2 separate regions of the Homo sapiens genome follow, and region 1 is linked to region 2. The links are contacts of gene promoters, found by promoter capture Hi-C in human tissues and cell types (Jung and others, 2019). All regions are on one chromosome and are shown on one strand. Each heading gives the region's core, a stretch centred on a gene start or on the middle of the fragment in contact. The rest is flanking DNA. Distances are from core to core; before and after follow the strand shown.

Evidence for each region. The method cuts DNA at HindIII sites, captures the fragments that hold promoters and counts their contacts. A contact is called where the count stands out against the background at its distance.
Region 1: a fragment that was not itself captured here is called in contact with the fragment with the promoter of MAGI1 in region 2 in 1 of the 25 tissues and cell types used here (dorsolateral prefrontal cortex).

The regions. Positions count from the first base shown.
Region 1 is chr3:65,831,222-65,835,283 of GRCh38, forward strand. The region is part of intron 1 of MAGI1 (membrane associated guanylate kinase, WW and PDZ domain containing 1); the gene reads right to left. Among named protein-coding and RNA genes, the nearest start is that of MAGI1-AS1, 61 kb to the right of the region's middle. The HindIII fragment of the contact is 5,818 bases long and covers 1-4,062 here.
Region 2 is chr3:66,037,493-66,041,445 of GRCh38, forward strand. It overlaps MAGI1 (membrane associated guanylate kinase, WW and PDZ domain containing 1), which reads right to left and starts at 1,426. Exons shown (of 23, transcript NM_001033057.2): 1 at 504-1,426. The coding sequence starts at 816. LOC105377128 (a long non-coding RNA gene) reads left to right here and starts at 1,461. Exons shown (of 2, transcript XR_001740440.2): 1 at 1,461-1,706; 2 at 2,560-2,802. RefSeq lists an enhancer at 1-441 and a silencer at 1,394-1,513. The HindIII fragment of the contact is 7,387 bases long and covers 1-3,271 here.

The sequences.
Region 1 (4,062 bases), core at 971-3,470, 210 kb before region 2:
AAGCAAGTGTCACTTCCCCAACAAGCTTCAGTTTCTCCTTCGCTAAGAGCCTCCTCCGCTAATTCTGAGGAAGATGAACAGGGCCACCTGGCAAAAATTTTTTACAGAATACAAGTAGCGTTACCTGGATGTTTTGCATCAAAAACTAAAACAAGTACAGGCTGAAACCCAAAGCTAGTGAGTTCAAATTCCTCCATGCTTTTAAGGATGGAGCATGTGAAGAGCAGAAGTATAGAGATAAAGCATCTTATTGTATAACCACATACACGGTTGAACTTAACCACTCTTCCAAAGTACACAAAACAGCACACTTAATCCATAAAGGAGATTTGAAGACTGGCCTCTAACTCTTGAAAGTTGGCATGCTACCACTATAAAAATGCCGTTTTTGAACTAAAAAGCAAAGACCTAAATGACTCCTGGTCTTACGATTCAGGCAGGAAACTCATGAGGCCAAAACAAAAAAATTCCACATAGATTTTTGCAAATATTTAAAAAGCACCTACTGGAGAGAATTTACTTGTGTGAATGGAAGTTTTAGATAAAATGCCTCTCTGAAATACATTTGCTTTAAAGAGAAAATAAAAGGTGGCAGTCTTTACTACAGATTTGAAATTTAAAAAGGCAAATCTGAAATGTGTCACCACATATGTGGGCCACAAGGTTACAGCTTGCCAAAGTTGCAATTCACATACTTTACCCATTCCTGGACTTACTGAATGTTGAGTAATAATTGTGGGGGCCTTGCCTTTCATATTGCGCCAATAATCTCGAGAGACCTTACATTACCATTTATCAGGAGGTCTTTAACGTTTTGCTGTCATCATTCAAGAGTGCCTTTTGGTCTCTGATGTTTCCAACCAGCCCTCTTTTTCAGAGCACCTTTCTCTTGACTGCCCAAAGATTAATGTTTAATTGCAGCTGGAAAGGCAACAACTGCACAGCCATCAGCATAAATCACAGTGCAGATCCACTAGGCACCACATTTAACTGGCAGAAATGATGTCTCCCAATCAGTGCCTGCAAATGCAGCTGGTTCTGTGCAGTCTTTGTGCCTTATAATTTGGTTAAGCCCTTTACAAATGATGCCAAGGGAGGGGCTAAGAGAGATTCTTCAAAACAATAAAGACTTCCAGTGTGGTTTTAGCACATGTAATGAAACTGAACACACTGAAAAGAAAACTCCTAGGGATGGAGAATCACAAAAGAATAAAAGGCTTACAGCAATTCCTCATAACCAAACTGCTAGCATGTCTCTGAATACGACATGGTCTTCCATGCCTATCTGCTTGGCAAGTAACTTCTGTTCATTCATCTTTCAAGACTCCTGGATGAAGCTAGATGCTCCCTTCTCTGTGCCACAAAAGCACTCAGCCCAAAGCTTCTCTTCCAACAATTACCATGTGTTTTGGAGCCATTCATTTTTCTGACCATCTCTCTCAGAAGACTTGAGCCTCTTATTTCTATACCTCCACATCCTAGGGCAGCTCCAGGCATACAAGAGATATTTAATGTTTACTGAAATGACTACCCATCAGGCAAAGCATCTGCCTTCAATCTAACCATCATGGTCTCTATCCACTTTGATGAAAATAGCAAACCATTATGGATACTATTTTGTTTTCAAGTCTGGTTATTATTACTCAATGTGGGGGAGCTTGAATCCTACTCACTGCTTTCACCCAGTATATGACTGTATCAAGGAAGCAGATTAAATATGCATTCTTACTACATTTCACTAAAATTCTCACAAGAATTCTACAATGGTGCAATTATATTCCCATTTGTATGGATGAAGTGAATGAATGGAGCTTGGGAAGGTAAATAAATGACTTTTCCAACATCTCCAAACAGGTCAATCAGTAATAGTGGGCTAGGACTGGAATGGAGGTCTACTGAACTTTTTTTTTTTGGGAGACAGAATCTCACTCTGTCACCCAGGCTGGAGTGCACTGATGTGATCTTGGGGTCACTGCAACCTCCGTCTCCCGGCTTCAAGAGATTCTCCTACCTAAACCTCCCGAGTAGCTGGGATCACAGGCGTGCACCACTACGCTCAGCTAATTTTTGTAGTTTTAGTAGAGAGGGGGTTTCACCATATTGGCCAGGCTGGTTTCAAACTCCTGACCTCAAGTGATCCGCCCGCCTCAGCCTCCCAAAGTGCTGGGATTACAGGTTTGAGCCACCACGCCTGGCCTAGGTCTACTGAACTTCTAACACCCATACAATACAATCTCTCCGGCTTCCCCAGTAGCATCAGAGACCAACAGCATAGTTACAACTCCAATTCAAAACAGAAAGACTGAAGATGAACTTTCACTGAATGTGCAAGTATATGTTCAAATATCTATTTACTAGTGTAATCATCGACGACTTACCTATTTGTAAGTCTTTACTATGTCATATAAAATAGAGAATATTCATTTTTAAATTCCAGGCTTTATGAGATTTTTGTTGTGTTATTACAACCAACTTGAAGCAAGTGCCAGCTTTTTTCCACAAGTTAGGTGGCAGGCTTCAGCATGCTTTTGAGCATATTCAACCTACTACAATCTGAGCTCCCAGAAAAGTTTCCTTAATTGAGTAAACAATTACATGAAGCCAAAAGTTGGCTGAAGAGAGAGGGGCTAGATCTCTTAGTTTCATTTGCATGCAGGAAAAAGTTTATGAACTTTCACAAGCTCCCCAGTGGCTTTCTGTAGCAGTGAAAATATCTTTAGATTACTAGTACACATGACTAGCTATGTAACAGAAATCTACAGTCCATTTGCAAATTCTTACTCAGCACCTACTTCCCTAGACACTGGGGATCCTGTGGTGAACACAACACATGTAATTCCCACTTTTCTGCAGCTGAAATTCTTATGCCTAACACCAGCTGATAGATAAACAACAAAGGTAACTTCAGATAATAAGTGCTAAGAAGAAAATAACAGGACGGTATGAAAGTAAGAGGAGGTAGGAACATGAAGATATTAGCTAAAGGAGGTTCTGTAAAGGCTACTTTAGATTGGGTAATTACAGAAGTTTCTGAAATGGCATTGAATTTAAAGCTCAGAATGAATCATCCAGGAGAAAAATCTGAGGGAAGAGCATTCCACACAGAAACCTCAAACAGTGTGAATGAGCTTAACATGTTCAGGAAATAGCTCAGGAAGTCCAAGTAGCTGGAGCTATCTTTCTCTTATTGATTTCTACTTTGATTCCACTATGGTTGGAGAATATACTCTGTATGATTTCAGTTCTTAAATTTCATGCTTTGTGTTACTGCTCACGATATGGTTTTTCTTGGTATACGATCTGTAGGTGCTTGAAAATAATATCTATTCTACTTTTGTTGGGTGGAAGGTCTATAAATGCCAATTAGATTCAGTTAGCTGATGGTGTTGAGTTCTTCCACATTTTTGCTGATTTTTCTCTCTAGTTGTTCTATCAATTATTGAGAGAGGGGTTTTGATGTCTACAACTATAATTGTGGATGTATCTATTTCTTCTTTCATCTCTAGCAGTTTTTGCTTCACATATTTTGCAGGTCTTTTGTTTGTTGCATAGGCATTTAGAATTGCTATGTCGACATGGTGGAATGACCCTTTTATTTATCATTATAAAATGTCCCTCTCTGTCTCTGGTAATTTTACTTGCTATGAAGTCTACTTTATCTGACATTAATACAGCCATTACTGCTTTCTTTTGATTGGTGTTTGCATTACACACCTTTTTCCATCCTTTTACTTTGAACCTGCCTATATTGTTTCATTTGAAGTGAGTTTCTTGAAGACAGCATATAGCTGGGTCATGTTTTAGTCCACGCTGCCAATCTCTTGTCTTTCGACTGATGTTCTTAGAGCATTTGCTTTTAATAAAATTGTTAATGTGTTAGGTCTTAAGGTTTTTATTCTATTTTTTGTTTTCTGTTTCTTCTCTGTTTCTCTTTTCTCCAATTTACTTTTTCTACGTTGTTCTGGGTTGCCTAAACTTTTTTAAAAGCTCTATTTTGGTTTTTCTACAATATTTTTAAGTGCCCCTCTGGTATAATATTTATTTTACTGTCAGGGACTAAGT
Region 2 (3,953 bases), core at 176-2,675:
GGTGTCCTAGCTCACCTGGAGGGGTCGCGGGGTGAAGCAGATTTTCTGATGGGGGAGGTCCAATAAACTACAGACCCTCTCTTTCTGTATACCCACTCAGCAGGTATGGAAACTGACTCGTGGCCAAAGAACGCCAGCTGCATCCCTCCCCCAAGGAGCCAGGACAGCGTCCACCATGCCCCTGACTCAGTTCCCCAACTCTCTCTCGGGTGCAGGCGAGACTGCGCTGCACTTAGTGGCGGAGATAACAGGTTGGCCAGCCAGGCCTGAGAAACGTCCCCCCGCTACCTTGCGCAAACCCAGCCCCCTCTTCGAAACGCAGGTGGGCAAACAACCCTCAACCTCGCAACAACTTTGTGTATTTCACCGCCACCACAGGGCGCACGGCCTCAACTTCTCTTCACTGCGCTCCGAGGAGGGAAGCAGGAAATCGAGAATAAGGGGCAGCCCACAGACCACCCTCCTTTTCTCGGGGCGCCCCCCAAAGGCGCGCCCTGCCTTACCTTGTCTGACGGCCTTGAAGGTGACGGCCTCCTTGCAGCTGTCGATGACCCCCAGCACGTCATAGCGGGGCAAGCCGGACACCCGGACCCCCTGCACCTCCAGAAGCAGCTCCCCTTCGCCCAGCCTCGGGCCCTCGCCGCCGCCGGGAAGCCCCGCTGCCTCGACCGCCGCCACCGCTCCGACGTACGGAAACTCCCCGTGCTCCGCGCCTCCCAGCACCGTCACCCCCAGCTCGCCCTGGGGTCCCCGCTTCACGGTGCATTCGTGAACCCTGCTAGTCCAGTGGTTCTTCTTCTGGATCACTTTGGACATGATGAGTTACACCCCTCCTCCAAAAAAATAAAACGAGAGACAGGTGCCCCCCACAGCACGAGCCCCCAAGCCTCCGCTTGTTCATGGGAGAAACATCTCTCCCCAAATCACAAAACAGGAGAGAGAAACTTGGCAGCCTCGCTCCCCTGCACACGCTCGCGCACTCAAGCCATCATAAAACAAACTTTCTGGGCTTCCCCGCGAGCCCCGCACAGGCGCCCGCGAGCTTTGTTTGCATTCCGGTGCCTCTGGGTCCACGTTCCGGCGCCCGCCCGTGCTCTCCCGGACCAGAGTCCACTCTGCGCCGCTCGGGTTATTTTTTTTTCCTTCCTTCCTTTCTCTCTTGCCTTTTACAAATGCGGTGCCTCCTCTTTGCCTCCCGCCCGGCTCGCCTCTCCTCGCTGGCAGGCTGTTACTGAGGGTGAGGGAAGCCCTTCCAGCCAGTTGCCGGGAGCCCTGAAGACGCGGTGGCGGGGCGGCGGGGAGCAGGGCGGGAGGTAAGTGCTCGCGGCCCCTTTAAGCAGATACAAAGGCTCGGCTTGTTTTGTTACAGTTCATTCTATTCCGCGCCGCGGAGCGCAGCGGCCGGCGACAGGAGACGCGCGCGCATGCGCCCCGCGGCCGCCAGCCGGCCGGCCCACCCCTCCCCTCCTCCCCGAAGGGAGAGATTCCAACGTGCTTCCCGATGGGTCCTAAAACCGACCTGCCGGGAGAAGGCAACTCCCCCCCAACCCTTCCTGAACCCCTATCCTCTCTCCTTTTCTTTCAGTGCCCTGGACTCCGCGGATTCCTTTGGGGCTGGAGGGCCGCACACGTGTTTTACTCCAACTGTTTGCAACTTTTGAAACCCGGGCAATCTGGCTTTGGCATTTGAAAACCATTTCAAACAGGTGGGGGTTGGGGAGGCTGCCACACTCACCCTGGCGCTCACACTCACGCACACGCGCACGCACTCGCGCCGGCCCTAAGCCTCCTAACCGCCCTCGGCCAGTGGCTGGCCAGGCTGTCGGTCACCCAGCCCGGCTGGTTCGCCGCCCCCCTTGCCGCAGGTCCCACTGAAACCCCCGAGACCCGCCCCGGGGCGCTCGCCGCCTCCCTGCCTGCCCTGCGCTTGCGGGTTCGGGTCCTGGCGCGGGGTCTGCCAGGGTCTCTGCGACCCGGGGGAGGGGGACGGTGGGATCCTCCGGTTCCCCAACTGGGATCCCTGTGCGGGTCACACGCGCTCTTACACACACCCGCATCCTTAAACTTTGGGACCAACTTTTTAGGACACGGGAAACTACAGGCAAGAGAGAGAAGCCATGGTGCTAGTGTGGGTTCAGGTATTCAACCAAAAAAGAGATCCCTCTAGCTTTTCAACTGCCCTGCCAGCAGAGACTGCTGGACCCAGTCAATCATCTGCCCCGGCCTCAAGTTCCTGGCAGGGCCGAGAAGCCTGCGGACCTACTCCGGGGCCAGGAGATAAGGATCCCCGCCGGGCGCGGACATGCCCTGCGTCCTGGCGCCCGCGGGGGCGTGAGAGAACTCGGAATTCGCAGCCCGGGGGTAGCTGCGGCCTCCGGAGGTCGCCCGGGGGTGCGGATGGAGTGACTTCTGTCCCGGCGAGGTGGCGGACAGAAAGACTCCCATACCACAGGAAGGCTGCCCTTCCCAAATACTCCTCAAATCAGGCTGCTGAGTAGTCTCCCCAGCAGTTTGTTTTCCTCTTTAGTGATGTATAATTTTGTTCATCTTTGGTCACAGGAGAGATTCCAAGAAATGAGGGGGGTACGTTGAAACGATGAAGAAAGGATGGACACAGCAGTCGAGGTTGAGAGGTAGGCTCAGGGGTCCACCCTTGTGTGACCTTGAGCAAGCTTGGTGACCTCCGCGCCTCCGTTTCTCGCTGATCAAATAAGTAGAACAAGACCTCACAGGGTTCTTGGAAGTATTACGTGGGAAAACACTTATAAAGTGGCAAATAATAAAAACTCATTATATTCTTAATAGTAGTATTACTATTTGGGAAGAAAATTGGGAAATCATTTGGGGATTCAAGTTAGTAAGTATGATAATTTATCCTCTCCTTTCTAGAACTTAGAAAATATGGGCATACTTTGTGTGTTTGTTTTTTGATGGTGGTGGTGGTGTTTTTAGAAACGTGGTCTTGCTTTGTCCCCAAGCTGGAGTGCAGTAGCTCGACTAGCTGATTGTAACCTCGAACTTCTGGACTCAAGCAATCCTACCACCTCAGCCTCCTGAGTATCTGGAATTATAGGCACATGCCACCATGCCCAGCTAGTTTTATTTTTTTGATTTTTTGTAGACATGGGGGGGTCTCCCTATGTTGATTGCCCAGGCTGGTCTCAAACTCCTGGGCTCAAGCCAACCTCCTGACTCAGCTTCCCAAAGTGCTGGGGTTATAGATGTGAGCCACCATACCTGGTTTAGGCATACGTTTAAACATCCTTTTAAAGCATTGTAGGGTGCTATTCTAAGCTAATAAAAGTAAGGAGGGATGTTGATGCTTCTCTCTTGGGATATCCAGAACTGAAAATCCCATTGCATTGTTGTGTTTCTGAAAAAAGGAGGTGACCAATTTTCCATGGCTTTGCTTGGTGAGAGGAACTTTGTCTCCAGCTTTTTTTCAGAAGCAATCTAGGTCAATATGAACAGCACTTCAAAACATAAATTATCAAACCCGAGCACAGATCCAGCCAATCAGAATGTCAAGGAAGGGCTAAGTCATTTGAACTTTTAAGGTTCCCCTTATGTGTTGTTGGTACACAACGCTGAGCACCATAGGTTTAGTATCTTGATTCCAAAGCATTGTTTGGGTCCCAGACCTTTTTGTCAAATAAACCTGTGATCCACATCTCTGTGTAAAATAAAAACTCAAGGAGGTCAGGACACTTTGACAGTTTGGTTTACTGATGTATTATTCCCAGTTCCTAGAATGGTGCCTCGTACTAGCAAATGCTAAAATATTTGTCAAATGACTCTTTCCACAAAAATGTACATTTTTACTTTCCATGTTAGTGGGGAGTCACAGATTCCCCTGCAAATCATTAGTAAGCTTAGTAAGCTTAGCCTTGTGTGTTTCCCCACTTTGCCACTTCATATTCTAGTAAAGTGTAATTGTTTGCTAAGAATACCCA